Linked DNA regions of Homo sapiens: region 1 is linked to region 2. The links are contacts of gene promoters, found by promoter capture Hi-C in human tissues and cell types (Jung and others, 2019). All regions are on one chromosome and are shown on one strand. The core of a region is centred on a gene start or on the middle of the fragment in contact, and the rest is flanking DNA. Distances in the headings are between cores, read along the strand shown. Region 1 overlaps LOC107986832 (a long non-coding RNA gene). Region 2 holds the start of MYL10 (myosin light chain 10).

Region 1 (6,174 bases), core at 3,342-5,841, 38 kb after region 2:
CCATGTCAACACTGAATGGATGAACTTGTGTGCATTTTAGGTGATCGTTGGATACTTGAATGTTTGTGGGCTTCATACATGAGTACCACAGCCAGCTAGACAGTGGGGACATGTTCCCAGAGAGTTAATGGCTAACATTAATTGAGTGCACCTGTAATCCCAGCTACTCAGGAGGCTGAGGCAGGAGAATCACTTGAACCCAGAATCCGGGAGGCGGAGGTTGCAGTGAGCTGAGATCACACCACTGCAGTGTGAGGAATCCATTGAGAGTATGATATTATTGTATCCTCACAATATTCTGTAAAGTAGAAACTACTGTTATCCAGTTTTTACACATGAGGAAACAGAGGCTTAGAGAGTTCCATCTGTGTTGCAATAAGTGGCAATGCTCATGGAACATCTTATGATGAAGCTCAAGTGACAGGGGATGGCAGGGTCTGGGGCTCAGAGCAATCAGGGCTGAGGGGCACAGAATGGCTTAGATCATGAGAAGTGACTTGCCCAAGGTCACCCTTGACATCCCCAGTGGAGCTGAGCCAAGAACTCAGGGCTCCCAACTCAAGGTTCCACCCCAGGAGTGGGGCTCATTTTGCACCACCACCTGGCTTAGGAGACAGAGTCCTGCATTTTCATTAAGCTTGCAAGTTGGACCGGTCAACATCCCTGAGCTTCAGGTTTTCCCCCTTGGCAAATAGAGCAATGAACAGCTTCCTCTCAGAGCCATAGTGAAGACCGAACAAGAAAAGAAAAAATCACCACCACTGTCATTTTGGAGTGGTAAGCCTGGGTCTTCGGAGTGGAACAGATAGAAATCACCCACTTGGCACTCCAGGCTCTGCAGTTTTCTCATCTATAAAATGGGCCCGGATGTTGTGAGGGTTAAATGAGATAGCATGAATCATGCACATGACATAGAGTGAGTCCCCTCAAGGCACTGGTAGAGAAGGCAGCTCTGTCCAATCTGTAAGTCCCCAGTCACAAGTCCCCAGCCTGGGGCCTGCCAGATAGTGGTGTTGAACATATGTTGAATGAATGGGTGCATGCTTGAAGCCCTGTGGCTCCTAAAAGAATACAGAGTAAGACAGCATGTGTGCACAGAGGAGAGTCACTTGAGGGGAAAGTCCTGTGAGAATAGAGCCCTGGTCTGCGTCTTGGGAGGATCAGAGTCTCTAGGATCAGGCAGTCCTCCTCACTTGACTGCTCTATGGGGAGAAGAAAGATGAGAGGCATATTCAGTTGTGTGCTGGAAAATGTAGTGGGGAAAGCCCTGACTGGTAGCGTTTGCCAATTCTCATGGTGTAAAGACCCTCACTGTGGTTGATTTTTTTTTTTTTTTGAGACAGAGTCTCATTCTGTCACCCAGGTTGGAGTGCAGTGGTGTGATCTCAGCTCACTGCAACCTCCGCCTCCCAGATTCCGGGTTCAAGTGATTCTCCTGCCTCAGCCTCCCGAGTAGCTGGGATTACAGGTGCGCACCATGACACCCAGCTAATTTTTCGTATTTTTAGTAGAGATAGGGTTTTGCCATGTTGGCCAGGCTGGTCTCGAACTCCTGGCCTCATGTGATCCACCCACCTCAGCCTCCCAAAGTGCTGGGATTACAGGCATGAGCCATCATGCCTGGCCACGATGGTTGATTTCAAGATATTGTCATTACATCAACTGGCCTGAAACTTACTAAAAGAATTAACAATTGTTTCTTGAAGCAGGCAAGAGAGAAAGGACCCAGATGTGATCATCCCCCAAAACTTAGGGGGGGTTAACTGGTACCTTTATTTATTACTTATCTCTACTCCCCAAAAGGAATCAAGGCATTTTATAGCAATGAAGACAATACATTAAGATGGAATGATTAAATCAAGATTTGGGGGCTGACGAAAGTTAATGTCTAGAAAACACAGGATAAGGCCAAGAGTGAGGCTAAGACCCTAAATTAGTGTCATAAGTTTTTTTCCTGATCTCCTAAGCTGCCTCCCCTCCCTTGTGGTCTCAACAATGCACTTGATCTTCTGTGCCAGACGGACAGCTGGGAGGTGAAAGGACTTGGGGGGAGCAGGGAAGAGTACCCATGTTGGGAAAGAGAAGGCTCAGAGACACACCACTGTCTTCAAGTTTCTGCACGGACATTCCAGGCCAGCAGGAATACAGGGTCCAGTGCGCCGAGCCAGGGCCAATGTGGATCCTCTATCCAAGAAAGAGCTTTTCACAGTCAGAGCCGTACACAGATGAGCCTCACTAGCCTGGAAAGGTAGTGAGTGTCTCGTCAGGGGAAGTATGTAACAGATGCTGGCCAGCCACTTATTGGAGGCTTTCCAAGCACTGGACTTGAGGGCCCATTTGATCCAGGATGTGGACCTGGTTAAGAATGTGGCTCAGGACTCACATCCCAATTCAACAGTAGTTGGGGGCATATTTCTTCACCTCTCTGTGTCTGGTTTTCCCTTCCTCTTTACCTCCACCTCCAGGTTCTCCAGGTGTCCTCCCAACTGGACCCCTGGCAGAAGTGTTCCTGGCCTCCTAGGGTTTCTGAAGCCGGCTGAGCATGACAAGAGCAGGTGCATTTGAGGCGGTGGGAAGCAGAGATTTGGGTAGTACTCTTTTTTGGTTTTGTTTTGTTTTTGAGACAGGGTCTCACTCTATTACCCAGACTGGAGTGCAGTGGTGTGATCTGGGCTCACTTCAGCTTCTGCTTCCCGGGGTCAAGTGATCCTCCTGCCTCAGCCTCCCGAGTAGCTGGGACTACAGACATGCGCCATCACGCTTGCCTAATTTTTTCTTTTCCTTTCTTTCTTTTCTTTTCTTTTTGTTTTTTTTTTTGTTGTTGTTGTTTTGTTTTGTTTTTTTTTTGAGACGGAGTCTTGCGCTGTCACCCAGGCTGGAGTGCAGTGGTATAATCTTGGCTCATTGCAACCTCCACCTCCCAGGTTCAAGCGATTCTCCTGCCTCAGCCTCCCAAGTAGCTGGGATTACAAGTGCACGACACCACACTCATCTAATTTTCGTATTTTTAGTAGAGACGGGGTTTCACCATTTTGGCCAGGCTGGTCTCGAACTCCTGACCTCAGGTGATCCGCCCACCTCGGCCTCCCAAAGTGCTGGGATTACAGGCATGAGCCACCGTGCCCGGCCTTGGCTAATATTTTCTAAAGACAGTTTCACCACGTTGCCTAGGCTGGTCTCGAACTCCTGGGCTCAAGCGATTTGCCTGCCTTAGCCTCCCACAGTGGTGGGATTACAGGTGTGAGCCACCACACCCAGCCTGGGCTGCACTCTTGAGATGGCATGCTCAGCCTCCTTCCTTTAGCTCCTGTCTGGGCTTCTCTGCTGCCACTGATGACCTCTCCCTGGGCAGGTACTTCTTCTGACCCCACACTGTCCCCCATTCCTCAACACAGGCCTGGCATGCAGGAGGTCTCAGTGAGTGGTTGTTAAAGGAATGGACAAGAGGATGGATGGATGGATGGATGGATGGATGGATGGATGGATGATGGATGGATAGATAATTGGATGGATAAATAAATGGGTGGATGAATGGATGGATGTGTGGATAACTGGATGGATAAATAGATGAGTGAATGGATGGATGGGTGGATAATTGGATGGATAAATAAATGAGTGAATGGATGGATGAATGGATGGATGGGTGGATAATTGGATGGATACCTAGATGGGTGAGGGGGTGAATGACTGTGTGAGTGCGTGGATGGATGAATGAGTGGATGGATGGTGGATGGGTGAATAGATGAATAGACGGGTGGATGGATGAGTGGATGGATGGATGAATTGATAATTGGATGAATGAGTAGATGGATGGATGGATGGAGGGAGGGATGAGTGGTACATGTAATTTTAATATAATTGCATGCTCAACCCCTTTATTTATTTCTTTATTTATTTAGAGATTAAGTCTCCTTCTGTCACCCAGGCTGGAATACAGTAGTGCCATCTCAGCTCACTGCAACCTCCACCTCCTGGGCTCAACAATTCTCCTGCCTCAGCCTCCTGAGTAGCTGGGATTACAGGCGCCCGCCACCATGCCCAGATAATTTTTGTATTTTTAGTAGAGACAGGGTTTCACCATGTTGGCCAGGCTGGTCTCGAACTTCTGACCTCAAATGATCCACCCACCTCGTCATCCCAAAGTGCTGGGATTACAGATGTGAGCCACCATGCCTGGCAACACCTTTATTTTGTTTTAGCCACACAACTGTTTTGAAGGCAGGGCTAAAACTATTAATCCCATTCTACAGAACTGAAAAATGAAGCCCAGAGAGGTAAAGCAACTTGCTCCATGTCACACAGGGAGGAAGTGACTGAATCATGATTCAAGATTAGTCTCTTGACACCTTGTTCCTGGTGCCTCTTCTAATCAGTCCCATTCATTCTTTCATTCTTTTATTTATTCAAACCATCATTATCATTGGGTGTCACTCATTCAAGCAGGAGCTTATTAAAGCCCATTCTGGGCCACCTGGTGCTGGGAACCTGGAGATGAAGCCGCCCTTCTCCCTGGCTTCGAGGAGTTTCTAGGGAAGAGAGCCCATGAGTAGCTCCTGATTAGCTCAGGACAGTGGCCTGGGCTAGGTGATGGAGATGCCAACTGTTCTCTTGGGTGGGGTCCAAGCCAGCATCCCTGAGAAGGTGAGGCAGGGCTGGGCCACCTGAGGAGGTGCAGGAGTCTGCCAGATAGAAAAAGAGAAGAAGGTCATTTACGTCAGGTCAGGGTGTGTGCCACCGTGGGTCATGGCGGCTGAGCTCCTGTCTGGAATAAGCCCAGCACCCTGGGCAAGTGGAGCGGGGGACATTTAGAGGAGGGGATGGGGGGAAGGGCCAGGGAAGCTGACGAGGATAGATCTGCAGGGCTTTGAGCGCCAGATTGGGAAGTTGAGGCTGCATCTGAGGCAGTGGGGAAAGACTGACGGGCGGAGAGCATGAGGGGTCCCCGCTGAGACAGGAAGGGTGTCAGTTCCCACTGAGTCCACCCCTTGGGCCTCTCCTCCACCCAAGAGTGCCCTCAGCACCCCTTCACCCCAGGTGCATGACGTCCGCCTGTAGCCCGGTGCCACCTCCCTTGGGCATCAGGGGGAGCCAGCCCCAGCAGAGGCCCACCCACCTCGGGAGAGCTGCCCTCAGCTGCCAAGGGCCCGCCAGCCTCTTTGGAAGACCTCAGGGCTGGGTTCAGGAGGCACAGGCCTCAGAAGCCGACTACCCCGGGCGAGGCTGTGATGCCAGGTGTGCCAGGCCCTCATTAGGCCTCAGTGCACAGCCCAGGCTCTCAGAGTGTCTTTCTGAGAATCCCCAGAGAAGAAAGAAATCAAAGGCTGGGGATTCAAAAACAAGGATGAGGAGATAGAAAACAAGATTTCTATCTGAATAATTTCCTCTAATTGCTGGTAAGAGACATTAATTTTCCTTTTGAAGCTCCCCGTGGCCTCGGGCGTCTTGGGACGTGCCAAGATGGCAGCCCGTCTAGCCGGATTATCTCACTGCCCGCCTGCAGGGCTGGCACCAGGCCACCGCGGGGGTGGCTGGCGGCAGGCTGGGTGCTGCTCTGGTCCCGTGGTGGGGCTCAGGGTGCAGGAGGAGCCCTGGATCTGGTTCCTTGAGGATGCCACACAAAAGGCCTTCAGAGTACCATGTCCTCCTGGCCTCTTTCTCCACCCTGGGTTGGACATAGGGGCGTCCTGGCCACCAGAAGCCCAGGCCCCACTGGGCTTTGGACACACAGGGCATCAGCTGGGTCTAGGCCTGTGCAACTGCATTTCCTCACCTCTCCTGCCCATGAGTGACTGCAGCCCCCACAGCAGATAGACCCAGGGGAGGCCGGCAAGGGGAAGGCCAGTGTGAGAGAGGCCCCGGAGAGCGTGAACCTGTCCATAGCTCCCCTGGGGGAAGTAGGGCTCATTATGATCTCCATTTTACAGATGAGGGCATTGAGGTTCAAAGGATGGGATTGGGGCTGGGCATGGTGGCTCACGCCTGCAATCCCAGCACTTTGGGAGGCTGAGGCGGGCTGATCCCTTGAGGCCAGAAGTTTGACACCAGCCTGGCCAACATGGTGAAATCCCATTTCTACTAAAAATGCAAAAATTAGCAGGGCGTGGTGGCGCATGCCTGTAATCTCAGCTACTCAGGAGGCTGAAGCAGGAGAACAGCTGGAACCCAGGAGGCAGA
Region 2 (6,871 bases), core at 3,490-5,989:
CAGAGATGGGTAAAGGAGATACAGATGGGGGAGTGGGCAAATGGCATTCTGTGGCTTTGGGTGTTTCCTGTGGACCCAGCCTACTGTGTGTCCTTGGGCCACAGGGTCTAAGGGAAGCCATGGTGCAGGGCTGTGACATTTGGGATGGGGCGAGGGGTCATCCAATGAGTCATGCTGCCCTGGCCAGGCCAGAAAGGGCAGGCCGTGAGGGCGTCTCTCTTCCACTAAGGACACTGGAGCCTTGGCACAGGAAGCACGTTCTGGAAGCCCAACAGAGGCATCTCTTGGCTCAGTGTCTTGTCACAGGCAGCATGTCCTCTGCCAATAACCAGACAGGATTGGTAGCCGCAGTCTACAAGCGCCAGGCATGTAACAAACTTGCCAAGTGAAAACTGATTCCATGTGACAGGTGGAGAAGCTGAGGATTCTGGGAAATTCAGTGATGTGGGTGAGGTCACAGAGCAAGTGGTCCAGCAGGACTTGAAGTCACTTTCATCTGATTTCAAATTCATGCTCTCATCTTCCCCAGAGCCCTGAGGAGTAGACTATGGCTGTGTAGCCTGTCCCCCTACAGAGCACATTTAAATCTCACTGTGATGGTTATTATGATATTTTGTAAAGAATCAGCCCAAAGCACAGCGCATGGTGGCTCATGCCTGTAATCCCAGCAGTTTGGGAGGCCGAAGCGGACAGATCACTTGTGGTCAGGACTTCAAGGCCAGCCTGGCCAACATGGTGAAACCAGTCTCTACTAAAAATACAAAAATTAGCTGGGCGTGGTGTTGGGTGCCTGTAATCCCAGCTACTCGGGAGGCTGAGGCAGAAGAATCACTTAAACCCAGGAGGTGGAGGTTGCAGTGAGCTGAGATCACACCACTATACTCCAGCCTGGGCAACAGAGTGAGACTCTATCTCAAAGAAAAACAAAAAACAAAAAAAAACCCCAAAGCATAGCAGTGTGCTCAGGGGTTCTTATGGATCAGAAATTCAGAAAAGGGATGGTGAGGGTGGCTTGTCATAATGTCTAGGGCCTCAGCTCGGGGGACTCTAAGGATGGGGATGACTCCATGGCTGGTGCCAGAATCACTTGAAGACTGGTCATTCACACGTTTGTTGTCTGGGAGGCTCGGATGATGACTCAAAGGCAGGGACTGCTGACTGGAGTACAGACACGGGGCCTCTTCGTGTGACTTGGTCTTCCCTACAACATGGCCGCCTCATGGTAGTCAGACTCGTCATAGAGTGACTCAGGGCTCCAGCACAAAGTCCCAGCAAATAAGGTAGAAGCTCCATGGCTTTTTGTGACTTAACCTCAGAAGTCACATAGTGACACTTCTACCCTACTTTCTTGGTCAAAGCAGTCACAAAAGCCTGCCTGTTGGCAAGGAATGATGTTATAGATCCCGCCTCTCCATGGAAAAAGTGTCAAAGAATTTGCAGGCATTTTTTACGGCAGCCTGGGATTGCTCAGGGAAGGTCAGAAAGTGGCCTAGGCTCTCAAATTCAGTAGGTAGGTGTGATGGCTAATATTAAGTATCAACTTGATTGGATTGAAGGATGCAAAGTATTGTTTCTGGGTATGTCTGTGAGGGTGTTGGTAGAGGAAATTAACATTTGAGTCGGTGGACTGAGAGAAGCAGACCCACCCTTAATCTGTGTGGGCAGCGTCTAATCAGCCAGTGAGGCCAGAATAAAGCAGAAAGAAGAAAGTGGAATAAGAAGACTCACTGAGTCTTCCAGCCTTCATCTTCTGTGCTGGAAGCTTCCTGCCCTCGAACATCAGACTCCAAGTTCTTCAGCTTTTGAACTCTTGAACTTAAACCAGTGGTTTGCCAGGAGCTCTTGGGCCTTCGGCCACAGACTGAAGGCAGCACTGTTGGCTTCCTTTTGTTTTTGTTGTTTTTTGTTTTTTGTGTTTTCTTTTGAGACACAGTCTCACTCTGTTACCCAGGCTAGAGTGCAGTGGTGCTATCTCAGCTCACTGCAACTTCCACCTCCCAGGTTCAAGCGATTCTCCTGCCTCGGCCTCCCGAGTAGCTGGGATTACAGACGCACACCACCACGCCTGGCTAATTTTTGTACTTTTAGTAGAGACAGCGTTTTGCCGTGTTGTCCAGGCTGGTCTTGACCTCCTGAACTCAGGTGATCCACCCACTTTGGCCTCCTAAAGTTCTGAGATTACAGGCGGGAGCCACCACGGCCGTCCGAGAGGTGTTCTAAAGCAGGCTGGAGACTGATTGTGATGAGTAGGGAAACATACAATGTGGCCAAAGGCTTGGAGGAAGGAGATTTCGGGAAGAATTTGCAGAACAGCCAAGGTCAGGGTGATGGCTGGCCAGGGAAGGGGTCAAGGGCTGTGGGGCTGGGGGACAGGGACAGCCTGCTGACCCTGAGGAGTTATAGGTGAGAGGTTAGGGGTGAGGGTTGAAAGGGGAAGGCATCTCCCCGGCTTGTTCCAGTGTTGTCTGGGGAACAGCTGTCCCCCTGCCAGGCAGCTGGGCTCGTTCCAAGCTCCCTTCCTGGCTTGGCCACTCCCAGGACCTCAGTTACCTCTGGAAACCGAGAGTGCTAAGTATTCTCTGACTCAACCCCAGGCAGACCTGGAATTCCAGTTCCAGAGGACACTTACTCTCCAGGGTCCCCTGGCTGGGAGCAGAGACCTCTCAGAGTGTCTCTGACCCCAAGAACTGGCCCTGGCCCTGTGGTCAGTTGAGTCAAACAGTGTGACCCAGCCACGACAACTGACTCATTGCAGTGTCACCTGGGTGAGGGGGCTGCAGCTTGGAGAGGCTGCAAGTTCTGTCAAGGACTCCATCTACACAGGGGGAAAGGGGGACAGGGGAAGGCTCTGCCCTCCAAACCCCAGGCCGATGACCCCAAAGCCCACCTCCTTCCAATGGCACTAAGCTTCCCGATGGCAGCCTCAAGGGGTCCTGGCTGCTGGCACCATTTCTCAGATGGGGAAAACTGAGGGTCCCACTGTGGGTGCAGAACTCACGGCTCCCCCTTCTCAAGGCCACTGCACCCTCACACTTCCCGCCCCCCAGGAACAAACATCTCCCAACCATCTCACCCCGGGGTTTTCACGTCTCTACCAGATTTCTCACCGGTTCTTCCTGCCTCCGGTCCTATGAAGGAGGAGGCCAGGGGAGGAAATCCACTCAGACTAATTTGTAAGCCCGGTGTGATTCACCAGCGCCGCTTCCCCTCCTCCGGGCAGGCGGGGGGGCTCTCCGCTTGCTCAGGCCTGTCCCCGGCCTTTGGGAGCCCCTGCCACGGTCCTGGGCGTGCTCCCCGGAGGCAAGAGCCCTTGCTTGCAGAGGCCTCAGGGCAGCAGGAAGCCAGAGGCAGGAAGCAGGAGTTATAGGTCTGCTACCCACTCTGTAAGCCCAGAGCCAGGAGGCCCCAGGGCCAGGCTCACAGACCGGGCATGGAAAGCCTGCACCCTAGCCACTGTCGCGGTCACACAGGCCCCCTTCTGTAGCAGGTCCAGGCGGCTGGGACTGGAATCCAGGCTCCCGTCCCCAGAGCTGGGTTCTCCTTTCCGCCTGGCTTGTTGAACACCTGTGGAACGTGTGGTTTTTCTCCCCGGAGAGGAACGCCAGGACACCAGGAGAGCAGCCCTGTCGGGGAAACTGAGGCACACGGTTTCCTGCTGCAGAAAGCGGGCTGCACAGCATCATGGCTGGACCTGGCCCCAGCTCTGGGAGGAGCACTCAGTCACAGGAGTTTAGGGACATCAGAAATAGCTGTAGTCAGGGATGACTGGGAGGGAGCAGGAGGAGGGGAGAGTTTGGATGAGCAGAACCTTTTGGAAGCTTCCTTCTGGAAACACTAGAAAGAGGGGCTCTTGTCCTGGCCCTCCCTCTCTCTCTCTCTTTTTTTTTTTTTTTTTTTTTGTTTTAGAAATGAGACCTTGATCTGTTGTCCAGGCTGGAGTGCAGTGGTGCAATCACAGCTCATTGAAGCCTCAACCTCCTGGGCTCATGTGATCCTCCCACCTCAGCCTCCTAAGTAGCTGGGCCTGCAGGCATGTGCCACTGATACAGGAGGGGGGACAGGGAAGTGCTGAGAGGAGAAAGGCAGGGTCCCTGGCAAGGGCTCCACCCTTGGGCCTGTGCCCACGGACCTAGGTGAGGACAGGCACTCCTGTTTATATGCCCAAATGTCACATTTTCCAAGACCACCCTGGCCCACCACGCCCCCCGCCCCCCCGCCCATCCTGTGCCTATGAAAACCCTGAGACCCCAGTGGGTACACACACAGGTGGCTGGACATCAAGAGGAGCAGAGGATCGGAAGAGCACACCGACAGCACTGGCAGATGCTGGCAGGCCATCGACTGGCTGAATAACACAAATGCCCAGGGGAATTTGGCTGGGGATGGTCAGAGGAGAGTCTGGCTGCTGAGCACCTTGACTTCAGGGGAAAAATCACCTTCCCACTCCATCCCCCTTCTGGCTCCCCATCATCTGCTGAGAGCTACTTCCACCACTCAATAAAACCTCGCACTCATTCTCCAAGCCCACATGTGATTCAATTTTCACAGTACACCAAGGCAAGAACCCCAGGATACAAAAAGCCCTTTGTCCTTGCAATAAGGCAGAGGGTCTAACTGAGCTGATGAACACAAGCCACCTACAGATGGCAAAAGTAAAAGAGCATCCTGTAACACACGCCCACTGGGGCTTCAGGAGCTGTAAGCATCCACCCCTAGACACTGCCGTGGGGTCGGAGCCCCATAGCCTGCCTGTCTGCATGGTCCGCCTAGAGGTTTGAGCAGCTGGGCATGGAAGAAGCGAGCCACACCCCCATCGCATGCCCTATGAACGGGATAAGGGAACTTTTTCACTTCACCACTATGCCTGACTAATTTTTTAATTAAAAAAAATTTTTTTGTAGAAACAGAGTTTCACCATGTTGCTTAGGCTGGTCTCAAACTCCTGGCCTCAAGTGATCCTCCCTCCTCGGCCTCCCAAAGTGCTGGGATTACAGGTATGAGCCACTGTGCCTGGCCTCTGGCCCCACTTCTTATCTGCCTTGGGTGAGTGACTTAACCCATGCGTGCCTCAGTTTCCTCATCTGGAAAATGGGATATGGATTGAATGTGAGGACACGTGTTTTAAGACATGGCCTGACCTTCTGTGTTGTATATTAGCTGCTCTTCTTATTATTATTATGATATTCCCTTCCCCAAAGGCAGGGGATCAGCTGTACCCGGGGCTGAAGGCCTGAGGCCAGCTCCAGGGACAGTTAAGCTCTCCAGCCCCTGGGGACCCGTGGGCTCACTGCCTGAACCCAGCACTGCCGGCCCTGGCAGCTGTTCAGATATGGCGGGCCCCAGATGGACAGTGGCAGCCTCTGAGGCCGAGCTGGGGCTGCTGGGGCTGCACTAGACACAGGAGGGGCTTTCCAGGGCAGGTGTGGGCTCTGTTTGGCAGATCTACTAGAGAATTCTTGGGCTGGGCCAGGCCTGGTGGGGATGGATGTGTGTGTGTGAGGCCAGGGTGGAATGGAGGTCTCATTTTTCAGTTCTTCCTCATCAGAGTCACCTCCAGTTTTCTGTTTTCTTTTTTTTAAGAGACAATATCTCACTCTGTCGCCCAGGCTGGAGTGCAGTGGCACAATCATAGATCACTGCAGCCTCAAACTCCTGGACTCAAGCAATCCTCCTGCCTCAGCCTCCTGAGTAGGTGGGACTACAAGAGCACACCACCATGCTCGGCTAATTTTTTTGATATTTTGTAGAGATAGGGGTCTCACTATGTTGCCCAGGCTGGTCTTGAACTCCTGGCCTGAAGCGATCCTTCCCTCTTGGCCTCCGAAAGCTCTGGGATTACAGGCGTGAGCCACTGCGCCCACCCCATTTTTCTTTTATTTGTCCTGTTGCTTTCTCTGTTCATTGAGCATTTCAGTGCCCTGAGGGGGTCCCCTGGCCTGGGGGTGCTTAATGGACACCCTGATAATAGGCATATTGGTAGAAGGGGCCCCCGAGGGCCAGGTTGGTGCAGAAACTCTCTCCATAAGCAGACCGGGGGTTTCATACACTCCCCCCTATTCCTATGAGATGGCTGAGCCTCCTAGAGGGTGATGTCCCACCCAGAGTCCCACAGCTCCAGAGGTCCGGCCACACTGCAGTCTGAGTGGGTCCCAGCCAGCATGGGTGGCCCCACCCTGGGCAACACTCCCTGACGGCTCAAGGCCAAGTCTTCCCATTGGGGTAGGCAGCCTCAACTTACTCTGTGTCCTTGGCCAAATGCCCCTTCCTGGGTCTTGGTCCCTTGGCTCTAGAGAAAACAGTTGGCCCAGGGCTCTCGGAGATCCTGGAGGCTTAGGCAGTCCCTGCGTCCGTGGTATTTGCCCACGGATTCCCCCCAACCCTATCCACTCTGAATGGCCCAAGGCAGGTGCCTGGCAGGGAGGTCTCCGTCCTGTCATGGATCACCTTCCACACTGGGCCCGGTGCATGCCAGGGGCCCTGGGAGGACCACTATTTAAGGGCCATCTCTGAGCTATCCCCAGGCCAACTGCAGCTTCAGGGAGCTCTCCAGACCATGGTAGGCTGGGGTTGTTCTGCTCTGCCACGGCTACCTTCCTCTCACCTCCACCTCCTCCCTGGGGAGCTCAGGCCTGTGGCTGTTGTGTCTTTGGCTTCAGCACTGCGGTCCCCTCCCTCCCACCCCTGCCCCTGCCCCTGCCCCTGCCCCTGACCTCACTCCGCAATTCCTTTTCTTTTTTAGACAGAATCTCACTCTGTTGCCCAGGTTGGAGTGCGGTGGCTCGATCTCGGCTCACTGCAACCTCCACCTCCTGGCTTCGAGTGAGGTTCCTGTCTCAGCCTCCCGAGTAACTGGGATTACAGGCGCCCGCCA

Evidence for each region. Contacts are between HindIII fragments. The study calls those that stand out against the background at their distance.
Region 1: a contact is called between a fragment that was not itself captured here and the fragment with the promoter of MYL10 in region 2, in 2 of the 25 tissues and cell types used here (spleen and thymus).

The regions. Positions count from the first base shown.
Region 1 is chr7:101,589,772-101,595,945 of GRCh38, reverse strand. LOC107986832 (a long non-coding RNA gene) reads right to left here. Exons shown (of 3, transcript XR_001745314.2): 3 at 4,171-4,679. Among named protein-coding and RNA genes, the nearest start is that of LINC01007, 24 kb to the right of the region's middle. The HindIII fragment of the contact is 9,953 bases long and covers 1-6,174 here.
Region 2 is chr7:101,627,164-101,634,034 of GRCh38, reverse strand. MYL10 (myosin light chain 10) reads left to right here and starts at 4,739. Exons shown (of 8, transcript NM_138403.5): 1 at 4,739-4,994. The coding sequence starts at 4,917. The HindIII fragment of the contact is 21,528 bases long and covers 3,364-6,871 here.